Linked DNA regions of Homo sapiens: region 1 is linked to region 2. Evidence: promoter capture Hi-C in 16 types of primary human blood cells and fetal thymus (Javierre and others, 2016). All regions are on one chromosome and are shown on one strand. The core of a region is centred on a gene start or on the middle of the fragment in contact, and the rest is flanking DNA. Distances in the headings are between cores, read along the strand shown. Region 1 overlaps SUV39H1 (SUV39H1 histone lysine methyltransferase). Region 2 holds the start of PPP1R3F (protein phosphatase 1 regulatory subunit 3F).

Evidence for each region. The method cuts DNA at HindIII sites, captures the fragments that hold promoters and counts their contacts. A CHiCAGO score of 5 or more calls a contact.
Region 1: a contact is called between a fragment that was not itself captured here and the fragment with the promoter of PPP1R3F in region 2, in 1 of 17 cell types (neutrophils). The highest score is 5.1, in neutrophils.

Annotation. Positions count from the first base shown.
Region 1 is chrX:48,701,846-48,707,854 of GRCh38, reverse strand. It overlaps SUV39H1 (SUV39H1 histone lysine methyltransferase), which reads right to left. Exons shown (of 6, transcript NM_003173.4): 4 at 1,444-1,590; 5 at 1,228-1,357; 6 at 1-418. The coding sequence ends at 285. Among named protein-coding and RNA genes, the nearest start is that of SUV39H1, 8.1 kb to the right of the region's middle. The HindIII fragment of the contact is 1,018 bases long and covers 2,343-3,360 here.
Region 2 is chrX:49,267,013-49,273,203 of GRCh38, reverse strand. PPP1R3F (protein phosphatase 1 regulatory subunit 3F) reads right to left here and starts at 3,411. Exons shown (of 4, transcript NM_033215.5): 1 at 2,331-3,411. The coding sequence starts at 3,334. RefSeq lists a silencer at 3,136-3,375 and enhancers at 4,076-4,125, 3,823-4,322. The HindIII fragment of the contact is 7,823 bases long and covers 1-6,191 here.

The sequences.
Region 1 (6,009 bases), core at 1,602-4,101, 560 kb after region 2:
CCATGAATCCCAACGACAGAGAGTCTTGATGTTGAAAAACTATTTCTGAAGGTGGGTGGGGGTTTGTAAGTGCAACCCACAGATGGGGCTGGGACAGGGAAAGGGGACTCCTGGAGTCGGTCCTCACCACGGCCACAGCCCTGAACGTAGAGCAGGTAGGAGCAGGTGGGGGCAGGTGGAGGCAGGCGAGGCCCTGGCAGTCATTCTCGACAGGAGGGCAGCAGTGGGGGAGGTGCATGTAGCTTCAGGCCCCCTCAGTCAGTCTGGCCTCAGACTTCTAAGGGCTAGAAGAGGTATTTGCGGCAGGACTCAGTCCCACACTTGCATTCAATACGGACCCGCTTCTTAGGGGAGCCAGGGAGCCCAGCCAGGCCAAAGTTGGAGTCCATGCGGGTGCTCTCCATGTCCACGGGGTCCACTGTGGAGTCACAGCCAGGGAGGAGAGGAGGGAAGGAGGCAGGGAGGGAGGGGGAGAAGGAGGGAGGGAGGAAGGTAGGGAAGGAGGCAGGGGACTTGTTAGAAGGCCTGGATGAAGGGTCCCACTACCCTTTATACCATGAGACCAAGGATCTTTGGGGCTGGGAGCAACTCTGGGATTTGAGTTGGGAGATCTTAGGGTTGGTGGTTTGGGGCTAGGGCCAGGGCTCAGCACTGGAGGTTGTTCAGGCCAGGGGTTGAAGAATGCTGGGGGAGGCAGGGAGCCGTCAAGGAACCAGGAGGGTCGTTTTAGGTGTGTGGGGGGGGGCAGGGGCAGGAATAGAGGGCCACCTGGGCATCCAGAGGTACATCTGAACTCTCCTGCCAAAGACCTGCCCTTGAGGGTCTCAGAGGTGGCTAGCTTATCAAGGAGGGGACTGGCTGGAGGCCACAAGGGTGTCCAGAGGCTTGGGATGAAGAAGGCCAAAGGGAGCTAGGAGTGGGGAGGGGCTGGGGGATGAGGGAAACTCAGTCAAGACTGGAGTCAGGAGTTTCTTAACTCTCCAGGAATCTTGGGAGAAGTTGGTATGAATGCCTCAGGGTTAGGGTTCAGGGGCTGGGAATGAGGGGACTCGAGGGGTAGGCAGGGGTCTAGTAGTCCGAATGGGGGACTGGGAGTCAGGAAGAGCATCTTAAAGCTCCCGCTAAAGAATTTTCCTTGGTTCTCTGAGTGACTGGTGTGCCTTTGGGAGGGGTCCTTGTGTCCCAAGTCACAGTGCGCCCCTGCCCCCAGTCCCTTGCCACCCCCACCTTGCATGTTGTAATCAAAGGTGAGCTCCTCGCCTGCCCGGATGGTTCTTGTGGCAAAGAAAGCGATGCGGGGCAGCCGCTCGTCAAGGTTGTCTATGAAGACGTTGTACACCTGCAGGTTGGGGTCACACTGGGCGAGAAAGAACAGTTGGGAGAGTGAGGAGGGGCTCCAGCCTGCCCCTCTCGACCCCTTGCCCGCCTGCCGGGGGTACCCACACTGTGGTTGACAAAGTGGGAGATGTTGCCATAGTAGGCGGCATCCACGGTGTACACGTCCTCCACGTAGTCCAGGTCAAAGAGGTAGGTGGCGCCCTGACGGTCGTAGATCTGGCCCCGCCGCTCTGCCTCCTCTGAGGTAATGATCTAGGGAAAGGGCCATGGGTAAGGGGAGATTGGCCGCGAAGTCTCAGGAAAGCCGGCACTGCTCCTGACTTCTGAAGGACAGGGAGCAGGAGGCACCCCTGCCCGTGGACACACATGGGCAGTGACGCAGAGAGTCTGTCGGCCCTTCCTGAGGAGCTGGGCCTCAGCTGGCAACTGCCTGGCCCGCCTCAGGCCTCTGGCTAGCAGGAGGAGTCCCTGGCGGTGAGTGCAGGCTGGCCTGGCTGCAGGGCCCAACTGGGGCCACGCGAGCACCTCCTGCCGCCACCCAGCAAGAGCTGCCCAAGAACCCCTGGAGCCTCCAGTGCCTTGGGACGGAGCAGGAAGGTGATCAGGAGAGACCAAAGCAAGGGCAAGAAAGAAAGTGACCCAGGGTGCCACAGGGAGAGATACTTACTGATCCAGGCAAGGGAGCCTGAGCCCATGCAGGACCCAGCAGGGAGGGCGTGGAGAGAGGGGAAGAAGAGACCCAGGCCATGGGGAAAGGGGGCAAGGGCCTCAAGACAAGAGAGGTGGAGGCAGAGGCAGAGGGAGGCCCAGGTTCAGAGAGCCAGAAAGAGGCTGAGGCCACACACTTCAGAGACAGCAGCAGAGGAGGAGGAAAGATGAAGGGAGAGCACAGTGAGAGAAGCTCTCCCTCGGCCCAGGGCTGCGCAGTGCCAACTGGTGCTTCAGACGGCAGTGGGTGCCTCCTCCCCAGCTGGTTCCCTACCTGTCCTAGGAAATGGGAAGCTTTGCTGCCATCCTAGCCCCAGCCTGTCCTTGCCTCCCAATCCACGCCAACAAATCTCCGGCCCCATGGCCCCTCTTCCCTGAGGCCAGCAACGGCAGCCTCCTGCCAATCCCCAAGCGTAGCTGACCAGGCCCTTCCCTGGGTAGGGGTCCCACTGTACCTCAGCCAAGAACAGTGCACAGCACACAGGAGACACATGGGGACTGCTGTTTACTTTGATTCTGCTTCCTGGCTTAGCAGCCTGTCCTCTGTCCAAGTGGCGGCCCTCCAGGTAGCTCCAGTACTCCCCCGCCACACTTCTTCCTTCCCCTCCCTTCTCCAGAGACCCCTCTCGGGCTTCCTTCCTTGCTCACCCTCATGTGGGCCGGTGACCATGCCCTTCTGACTTGGGAATCCATCTCCTTAGCTAGGATGGCCACACTGGTGTTCTCCCTGGCTGTCCCCTCAAGGCTGTGTTCCATGCCAAAGGCTGACTAACAATGCCTTGAGGAAACCAAGATTTACCCTGCCTCGGGCCACACTACCCACTGCCCCGTGCTCCAGTTCTGTTCCTTGAGGAACCTGGCTCCCTTGCCAGGGTTTTTATTGAGGCCTTCCTTGTGCCCAGTCCCAGCATGCAGGGCTCACGGTCTGATCAGGGAGACACAGGGACCAGGCCCGGTCCACTCTCAGGGGTCACAGGTGGGTAGGGGATACACAGGAACCAGGATTGGTCCCTGCCCTCAAGGGGTCAAAGTCTGGTCACAGAGAGACAGATTCACACACCCACAGTGTAAGACTGTGATCAGGAAACAGTGCTTAGGGCTTGAGGGGGAATGGAGAAGAGACGGATTCTCTAAAACGAGTTGCAGATCATAAAAGGGCTTTACCACCTGGTGGAAGAGTGGGGACTCTCTCCTAAGGGCCACAACATGAGGGTGGAATATGTCAAGATCAGTCTCCCTTCACCTCCTGGAGAACAGTCTTCCTTGTGGCATCAGCTCAAACAGATGGGACCTCTCTAGGCAGCCTTCCAAGCTTCCCGTTCCTCCCCTACCTCAGAAGCTGGCCACTTGTCTGATCAAGTCCTGGGATCAAAGGGCAGCCTCTCCCAGGCTCACAGGCCTAGTGGGTGGGGTATGAGCCATCTTTTTCACCGTAGGCCCTCCTTGAGCCAGGAGGAGTGCCCACATCCTTCCTAGTCTCCATCTTCATGCCTATTCTGCCACTACCTGCTCTCCCAGTCTCACCAGGAGTGAGTCATACTGCAGGCCCTCCAGGGCACAAACACTTCTTGGTTCCTTCTCATCTTCTTTTCAGTCCCATTCTCTAATGATTGGTCAACCCTGAAAGCTTGGGAACAGATGGGCCTGTCTCTGCTCCCTAACAGCTCTCCAGAATGAATGGAAAAGACAGGCTGTAAGCTGGCAGTTCCGAGAGGGTGCTGACGTGAATGGGAACTAGAAGACTTGGAGTCAGCTGCTGCTCTGCCCCCTCCTGGATATGGGATCCTGAATGTTCTCTCTGTGCCTGTTTCCTCAGCTAAAAAAAAAAAAAAAAAGCTACAGCCTGGCAGGGTACCAGTTTTAGATATTATTTGGGCCTTTATTTTTTTATCCATTGTACTACTTTTGTGATTTTAATCAAGTTATTCTACCTCTCTGGGCCTCAGTTTTCTCATCTGCAGAATGGGAATGACAGTGACAAAATCCCAACCTGACAGGGGCTGTTGTAAAGATCCATACAAGATCATGGACGTGAAAGGTGTTCCTGTTTCTGATAGGAGAGTGAGCAATGTTAGGAGTGGTTATGAGGACCAGTTATAAATGTAAGGCACACCCTTAATTTTATGTGCCCTTTACCAAGAAAGGAAAAACTGCTGTTAATTATAAATGATACACCATGATTTAATTAAGACATCTTCATTTCCGAGATGTTAAAATAGGAAGAAAATGCATGTTTTAGAATGGATAAAATAGGCTGGCATTGTCTCTTGGGTGAGGATGGGAATGTTCTGCAGGAACGTGAAAGTTCTGACCCAATGTGGGAGGCTGCAAAGGAGGGAAGGGCAGCTCCCGTGGAGGGAGCTCTTGGTACAGACTGTCAGTACATGTCCCAGCTGAAGAAGGACAGTAGATAGCATGGTGTGCAGATAGGCCCTTGATTCCGTAACACCCTGGCAGCATCTGGGACGGCACTACAGAATCAAGTAAATTAGAACTGCTGCAACGAAATGTATGACTATTACCCCAAGTAGGATAAATAAAAACTACAAATAGGACCCTATCCGGTCAGGCTGGGTCCTGTAGCCAGATGGGTTACAAAAAAACTTGGTCTTCCAGACATTTTGGATTTGCTGAAGTTTGAACTATGCTGATAACATTTGTATCAAACTTACTGTGTACTGAACACTGTTCAAGTGCTTTTTCCAAGTGCTTGATACATAGTAACTCATTTAATTTTTGTAACAAGCCTGTGAGGTGAGTGCTATTATTGTTCCCATTTTACATAGTAAATGCAGGCACAGAGGTTAGTGATTGCTGATGAGTAGTGGAGCTGGGATTCAGCCTCGGGCAGTCAGGATCCAGAGTCCACCCTCCTAACCATTTGCTATACTGTCTCTTCAGAGGGGAATGCGGGAAGATGAGTTTGGCTCTTTCCGGAGGCCTGTGGCACCATCAGGAGGACCCATGGGTCTGAGGGTGCTGGAGGGCGGTCAGGAAATAGTGCAGCAAGAATGTGTGGAGAGCAGGAAGGGTGAGGACAGGGCTGAGAGGATCCCTGGGAGGATTAAAGACACTGACACTAAGGAAGAGCAGCCAGAAAAGTCTCAGGCCCAGGAGGGTCTGAGGCTGCCCTTGGGGTGTAGTCTTCCTCCTCGACTGTCAGGACCCTGTGTGGTAGACAGTGTTTCCTCCAGATGCCAGTACAGTGAGGCTGAGATACTTCCTGCTCTGTGCAGCCCCTAGGACGGTGGACTGTCTGGGTCCTATGGGGTCTGGACATCTCCTCCAGAGAGTTTGGGTTCCTTCAACCTCTGGACACTTCCTCCAGAGCGTCAGGACATTGAGGGCATGGACACTTCCCCCGATACTGTCAGGGTGCCCTTGGGTGTAGACTAGATCTCCAGGCTGTCCGGATCCCTCTGGGGTGAGGACACTTCTTTTTCCTGTCATGACAACATGGGTGTGAACACTTCCTAAGTCAGACCACCAGGTCCTCTAGAGTGTGGAGAGCACAAGCTCTTCCTCCAGGTCACTGGGGTCACTGTGGGACATGGACTTCCTGCAGATTATCAGGACTCCTTCCCCCGCCCACTGTCAGGAGCCCTCAGGGTGTGGACACCTCCCCACCTCCTCCTTCCAGATGGCCAGGTCCTGTGGCATGTAGACATCTCCTCCAGCAGGCCAGCAGGGTTATCTGGACAGGGTGTGGCTGTCTCCTTGCCCAGACTGTCAGGGTCCTCTGTGGTGTAGATTGTTCTACCCAAGATTGTCTCTGTCCCTGTCAGATGTGACCCTCTGTACAGTTTCTCAGAGTAGGAGCCTCTCCTTGTCATCAGTATCAGTGCTACAGTGTGGACACCCTCATGTGAGTGTTCCTCAGGCCAGTTTCTGTCACTTTCCAACTATATCACACCCCTAAGGGACCTATGGCTATATATAGAGGTATCTGGGGTTGTCACTATG
Region 2 (6,191 bases), core at 2,162-4,661:
TGGGAAAGTGATAGAAATGAAGGTAGCTCTGGGGTACTGGACCTGCTCAGTATCTTCATCTGGGTGGTGGCTACACAAGTGCATACATATGTACAAATCCACTGGGCTATACACAGAATATCAGTACACTTTATGTAGGTATACCTCGATAAAGCAAAAAAAAAAAAAAAGGTAAAAGGAAAGCACGACATGCTGGGAACACCAAGAGTGAAATCCAGAATTTGCCCTGAATCATGCCACGCTTTCTAGAGGACCAGTTTAAAAAAAAAAAATAGAAAAAAATAAATGTCCCTAGCATTTCTTCCCTGGCCCTGTCACTCACTAGCTGAGAGGCTTTGAGCAAGCTGGCTCATCTCTCTGAGCTACCTGTCTCCCCTCTACTAAATGGGGATAATCATAGCACCTACACAACACAGCATGCACAGCAGGCCTCACGGAGAGAATGGATCTGATGTTCATAGCACAGAAATCAGTAAATGCTGGCCAGTTATCTTTTGCAGTTACCACCATGCTTCAGTTACCTTGCCCATGTTTGCTGCATTCAATCCAACCATGCAAAGTGACTGTCATTTCCCTTAGCAGAGAAGGAAACGGAGGCAAGGCCACACAGCTGATGGGCGGAGCCGAATTTAGGAGAGGAATCCAGGAAACTGTAGGTGTGGCTCCCTAAATACTGACACTAGCTAACACCTGTATGATACTACTTTGAGCCAGACTCGGTTCTGAGCACCTTTACTCTTATCCCGTAAAGTAGATGCTATAATTCTGTTTTACAGGTGAGGGTCCTGAGGCATGGTGTAGTTAAATGCGTTGGCCAAGGTCACAAGGCCAGTAAGTGGCAGCGCCAGGATTTGAACCCAGGCAATCTATGCCAGAATCCACACTCTTAATGCTGTAAGAAAAACCATGCTGCCTGCCCCCTTTAAATGAAGTCTCAGATTATGGTGGGGCTCACAGGTGGGTGAGTGGGTACCTGCCTGCCTGCTCAGTTACCCAGGCACATCTGCCCACCAGACCGGAGCTAGACCTTTCTGAACCACTCACAGCCTAAGGCCTTACCAGAACCAGCAGAACCCACAAATGTCTTACTGCAGCCAGGGGCTTCTGACCAAGCGTATACATACAAGGTCCAAAAAGCATTTTCCCATTTCCATTCCCAGTCCTCCCAGGAACAGGGAAATGTATACATTTTAGGGAGAATCTAGTGATCCTGGGCCAGACTTAGGTGACCGCAAAAAGAATCAGGACTAGCTGCTGCCCTTAAAGAACTCATAGCTTGATAGAGGAAACCTAGGGAAATCTTCTGGGGCCCCCTGGGGTATAACTGATTATTTCTCCCTGTCCCTAAATGATCACAGGTGGTGTGGCAAAAAAACAAGGGACAAAAACTTCAAGTCCAGTACCCATCTGGTTCTGTCTCTCTGCTAGAGCCACTGCTTTCTTGTGAGAGCATGGGCTCAGCCCCTCGCCTCCACAGGACTCAAAAGTAGATTACAGCGTTAACAGTAGAGTGCACAGGCTTCAAGGTCAGGCATGGGTGAACTGGAAGAGCCAGGTGCCATCACTGCCTCAACCAGTTTCTCCACCTCTGGAATCCTGGTTTCCTGCTCTGTCAGAAAGAGAATCTGCTCTACCCCCCACTGGCAAAGCCCTTGGTCCACACTATGTCATTGCAGTTCTCTCCACTCCAGCACACTGCTGATCATTCACACCAAGCTCATTTCCACCCCAGGACCTTTGCACTTGCTGTTTCCTCTACCTAGAACACCCTTGTTCCATATATGCACATAACTGTTATTCATCATCCAGGACTTAGTTTAAATGAAACCTCCTCAGAAAAGTCCTCCCTGTTCCTTTTCCTACAAACTCTCCCCCACCTCCCCACCGTATCTGCATAACTCTTCTTTATCATCATTCGGGACTCACCTCCTCAAAGGCCCTCCCTTTAACAGCATGTCTGACACAGTCATTCCCTCCCAATCTATCCCCTTACTCCCTTCAGCAGCTAACTTTGTCCCTATTTATCCTATCTGCTTGCTTGCTTGTTTTTTCAAACTGTCTCCCATAGGAGCCTGTATGAATCCTTGAGGGTAGGGTAGATGTCTGTCTTGTTCAGGGCTTTACAGTGGAACTCAATAAATGGAGGAATAAAACCCCAGTTAAAACAGTGCCTAGCACGTGTTTGACCTCCATCACTCTTTGACTGACTGACTCAATGCACCCTCCTCCCTGTCCTGGAGAGCAGGCCTGAGGGGTTCCTGGGCCGGAATGCTTGTCCTCCATCCCAGACACAGCCCTGCGTTGGCGGAGGTGGCGCTGGCTGACATTACCTGCGCCTCACCGGCTTCATGCAGCTCTTCAGCTGCCTGGCCTCAGCCTCCACGGGACCCTGGCACTCGGGCTGTGGCTCCAGCTGCGGCAGCTGCTGCTGCTGGGGCAGCCCTTCGGCATCAGTGGGTGTGGGAGCGGGTGCGATCCGGAGCAGGACTGTGTAGTTGCGGCCGTGGTTGTTGGCCCAGAAAGTGCCCTCAGGGGTCTCATAGCGCACCACGAAGTCGAGGCGCGCCCCATCGCCCGCGCCCTCAGCAAAGGGCAGCTGGAAGGCAAAGCGGTCGGTGCGGCCGCCGTCGTCGGGCGAGGAGGCGGATGCCTGGCCGGGACCCAGGCCGAGCCCCGGATCCAGGATGGGATCTCCTGCTCCTGTTCCTCCCGCTCCTGCCCACGGCGGGCTGCGCGGGACGTAGCGCGCTGGGTGGTCGCAAAAGGAAGCCCAGCCGTCGTGTGAGGCCCGCACGTGCACCGCCTTCTCGAAGGAGCGGTTCAGCACGCGTACCAACCCGCGCAGCACCGGCGGGCGGCCCCCAGGCACCCACACCCCGGCACCCCCGGGGACCGCTCCGGGAGGCGGCAGCAGCGCCTCCAGCTCCACCATGACGCGCCCCAAGCGCTCCAGACGGCCCGGCGCGGGCGGCAGCGAAAATGTGGGGACCAGGTAAAACCCCCCGCCAGCGGGGACGGGGCACAGCGGTGAGGGCTCGGGGCAAGCCTCCTCTTCCTCCTCCCCTTCATCCCCATCCTCGCCATCGTCGTCCTCGTCGGCCCCGCCGCCGCCGCCGCCATCTTGCCCGGCCGCCGCCGCCATCTTGCCCGCCCCGGGCCCGCCCCACGGCCGGTAGCGGCGCAACTGCGCCAGCGGCAGCCCCAAGGCCTCGTCGGCGAACAGCACCCTCCGCGGGGCCACCGCCGCCTCGACCGAGGTGCGGGGCTCACCCGCGGCCGGCGAGGGGGGCGCGGAATGCCGCAGCGGGGGCTCCACAGGGGCCGTACGCGCCATATCGGCGGCGGCGGCGGCACCGACGGCACCGGCGGCGGGACCGGCGGGGGCAGGGCCTGAAGGGGCGGGCAGCCAATGGGAAGGCCAGCGCGGAGGGGTACGGCTCACGGGGGCATAGGCGGTGAGATGAAGACAAGTATTGCAGAGGGCCAATGGGCAGCCATGCACGGATGACGTACAGCGAATTGAGAGCCGGAGAAGCACGCAGCCAATGGGGATGCCCGGGAGTGGGCGGTGTAGGGGGCGGGATGATCGAGGAATCAATGGAGAGGCCGGAATGGGGGTGGTGCGAAATCCATGATGAAGAAAACAGAAGCAGACAGCTAATGCGGAAGTCTGAGCGAGAGAGGCATGTGGGCGGTGGGAAAAGTGGAATGGCTACAGGCGATGAGGGCAGCCGGGAACGAACGCAGAGGCCCAAAAAGTGGGAGATCCCGCGGGTTGCGTAGGCGGTGGAACGGTAGCTAGAGAGAGAGAACAGCCAATGGAGAGCCACGCGTGGGATGACGACAATGGCTGCAGCGAGCCAATGGGGAGGCTTGTGAGCGTGCACTGCGGCTTCGAAGGGGTGGTGCCAAGGTGGAGCTAGCCAATACGAAGGCTAAAAGGAGACCAAGAGGCGGGTGTGTAGGGAGCCGAGCCAATGGAGGTGGAGGCTGAAGGCGGGAGCGAGGACGAGAGCTGGCGGATAGCCAATGAGGGAGCCAGGGTGAAGGCGTAGAGACCTCAAAGGACAGTACTAGTATGGGATGAGCCAATGCCGAGGCTAGATAGTGCAGCGGGACGGAGGGAGGACTTGGAGGCAAGATGGGGAAAAAAGCAGAGCCGACGGGGGCAGTGTAGGTGGTGTGAAGGGAGGCATGAGTAGCCAATAAGGAGGCTGGAGAGGAGGACGCTGTGTAGACAGAGTCTGAGGTATTGGGTGGCCGGACAGCAGAACCATAGAACGCAGGCAGCCATTAGGAAAAATGTGCTTCTCAGGGATGGGGTTACCCTCTCCCTAACCCTCCGTGACTCCCCATTGCCCCAGGAATACCCAGAGCCCCTGAAGGCCTAGACCACACCTTGGTGTGTGAACTAGGAAAGTGAAAATGACTGTCCTGTTGCAGTTAGTTACTTACTGGGTCCTCCCTGCCCAACTACAACCTTTTCTTGAGCAGTGCCACAAGCCAAGAATGCCCCTGATTGTTAGCCGCAAGCACTCTCCAGGACTTGATACTATTGTTGAATGAATGGCCGAATAGGAAATTTAACTTTCTGAAGGATTCACTTTTTTAAATTTCAGCTCAGCAAACACTGACCTGACTGTGTGCTACCAGAAGTTGATTGGGCATATGGGTAGCTTCTGACTAATGGAATCACAATCAAAGCCCTGTCCTTCTTGCCCAACCTGACACTCCACACCCCACAGGGGCCTCACCTCCCTTCTTTCTGTCCCCCCATCTCTGCTTCTACTGTTCCCTCTCCCAAGAGTGCTGTTCCTTCTGCTGCTTCCATCTAGTAAACTCCTTTCGCTCTCCCTTTGGGGTCTCACCTTCTGTGGGAACTCAACTGCAGCTTTTGTCCGCTGAACACATCCATTCATACATTCCTTCTCCATCCTGGGAAGATTTACTGAACACCTACTGAGTGCCAGGTTCTGAGCATGCTGTTATCTCATTAGAACCTCACAGCATCCTAGGAGGGAGGTGATCCTTCCAGCAGCCCCTCTCCCCAGGTCTCCATGTTCAGGATGTCCATGAGTTAGAAATGAATATGTTCAGCTGCAAGTAACAGAAAAATCATAAAATAATGGGGGCTTAAGCAAGACAGAACTTTATTTTTTTCTCACCTAAAAGTTCAAGCTGGCAAATAGTCCAGGGACTCCTTCCTGCCCACCTGGTTTGGGCATTGTCTGTCCCGATCTGGCTCCAAGACTCTCAGTCTTCAACAAATCCTTTTGGCTGTCTATTAAAAATATTTACCAAATCCATCCTCTTCTCACCACCTCCACTGCCAGCACTATCACCAGTCACCTAGACTACTGCAGTAGCCAGCTCCTTGCTGGTCCCCTGCTTCCACATTCAGGCCCTAGACCCCATTGTACACTCAGCATTCAGGGGCTTCCTGTTAAATCCTAACACGGTTTGTGTTTCTCCTCTGCTTGCAACCCTGTCATGCCTTCCTCCTCACTCAGCGTTGAAGCCAAAGTCCTTACCATGGCCTACAAGGTCCTGCGTGGTCTAACCTCCGAGTCCCCTTTCTGACCTCACCTCCAGCTTCTCTTCTTGCTCTCTCCACACTAACCACACCAGCCCCCTTGTAGACCTTGAACAAATCAGGTACATTCCCACCTCAGGACCTTTGCCCTGGCTGTTTCCTTTGGAGTTCCTCAGATATCTAGCTGGCTCCCTCCCTCATCTCCTTCAAGTCTTTGTCAGAGGCCCCTGTCTCTGGGGACTTTTCCTGACCCGTTTAATCTTGCCTACTCACCCCCAACTCCCAGCCCTCCCAGTCTCCTTCCCGAGAAGCCCTCCATGAGAGAGGATATAGTCCAGTATAGAGGGGAGGTAGCGACCTCTACCCCTCTCTGCCCTCCTGACCCCAGCCCCCATTCTGCAAGGATCTTGGCTTTCAGCAGCCGTAGCATTTCCCTCTCACACCCTGGGCCTGCCCAAGGGGCCAGCTCACATTCTCGGCCACCATCCTCACTTCGTTTGCCTCCTATATCTCTGGCCACTCTCTTTCATGGAGTGAGTGACAGTAAGGGACAGATGGTCTGGGGAAGGTATAAGGAGAATGCAGCCCACACCTCTGATCCTGAGAGAGAAAACTAGCCCCCTTTTCCAGGAGGGGGACAGGTGCTGGGGCAGGGAAC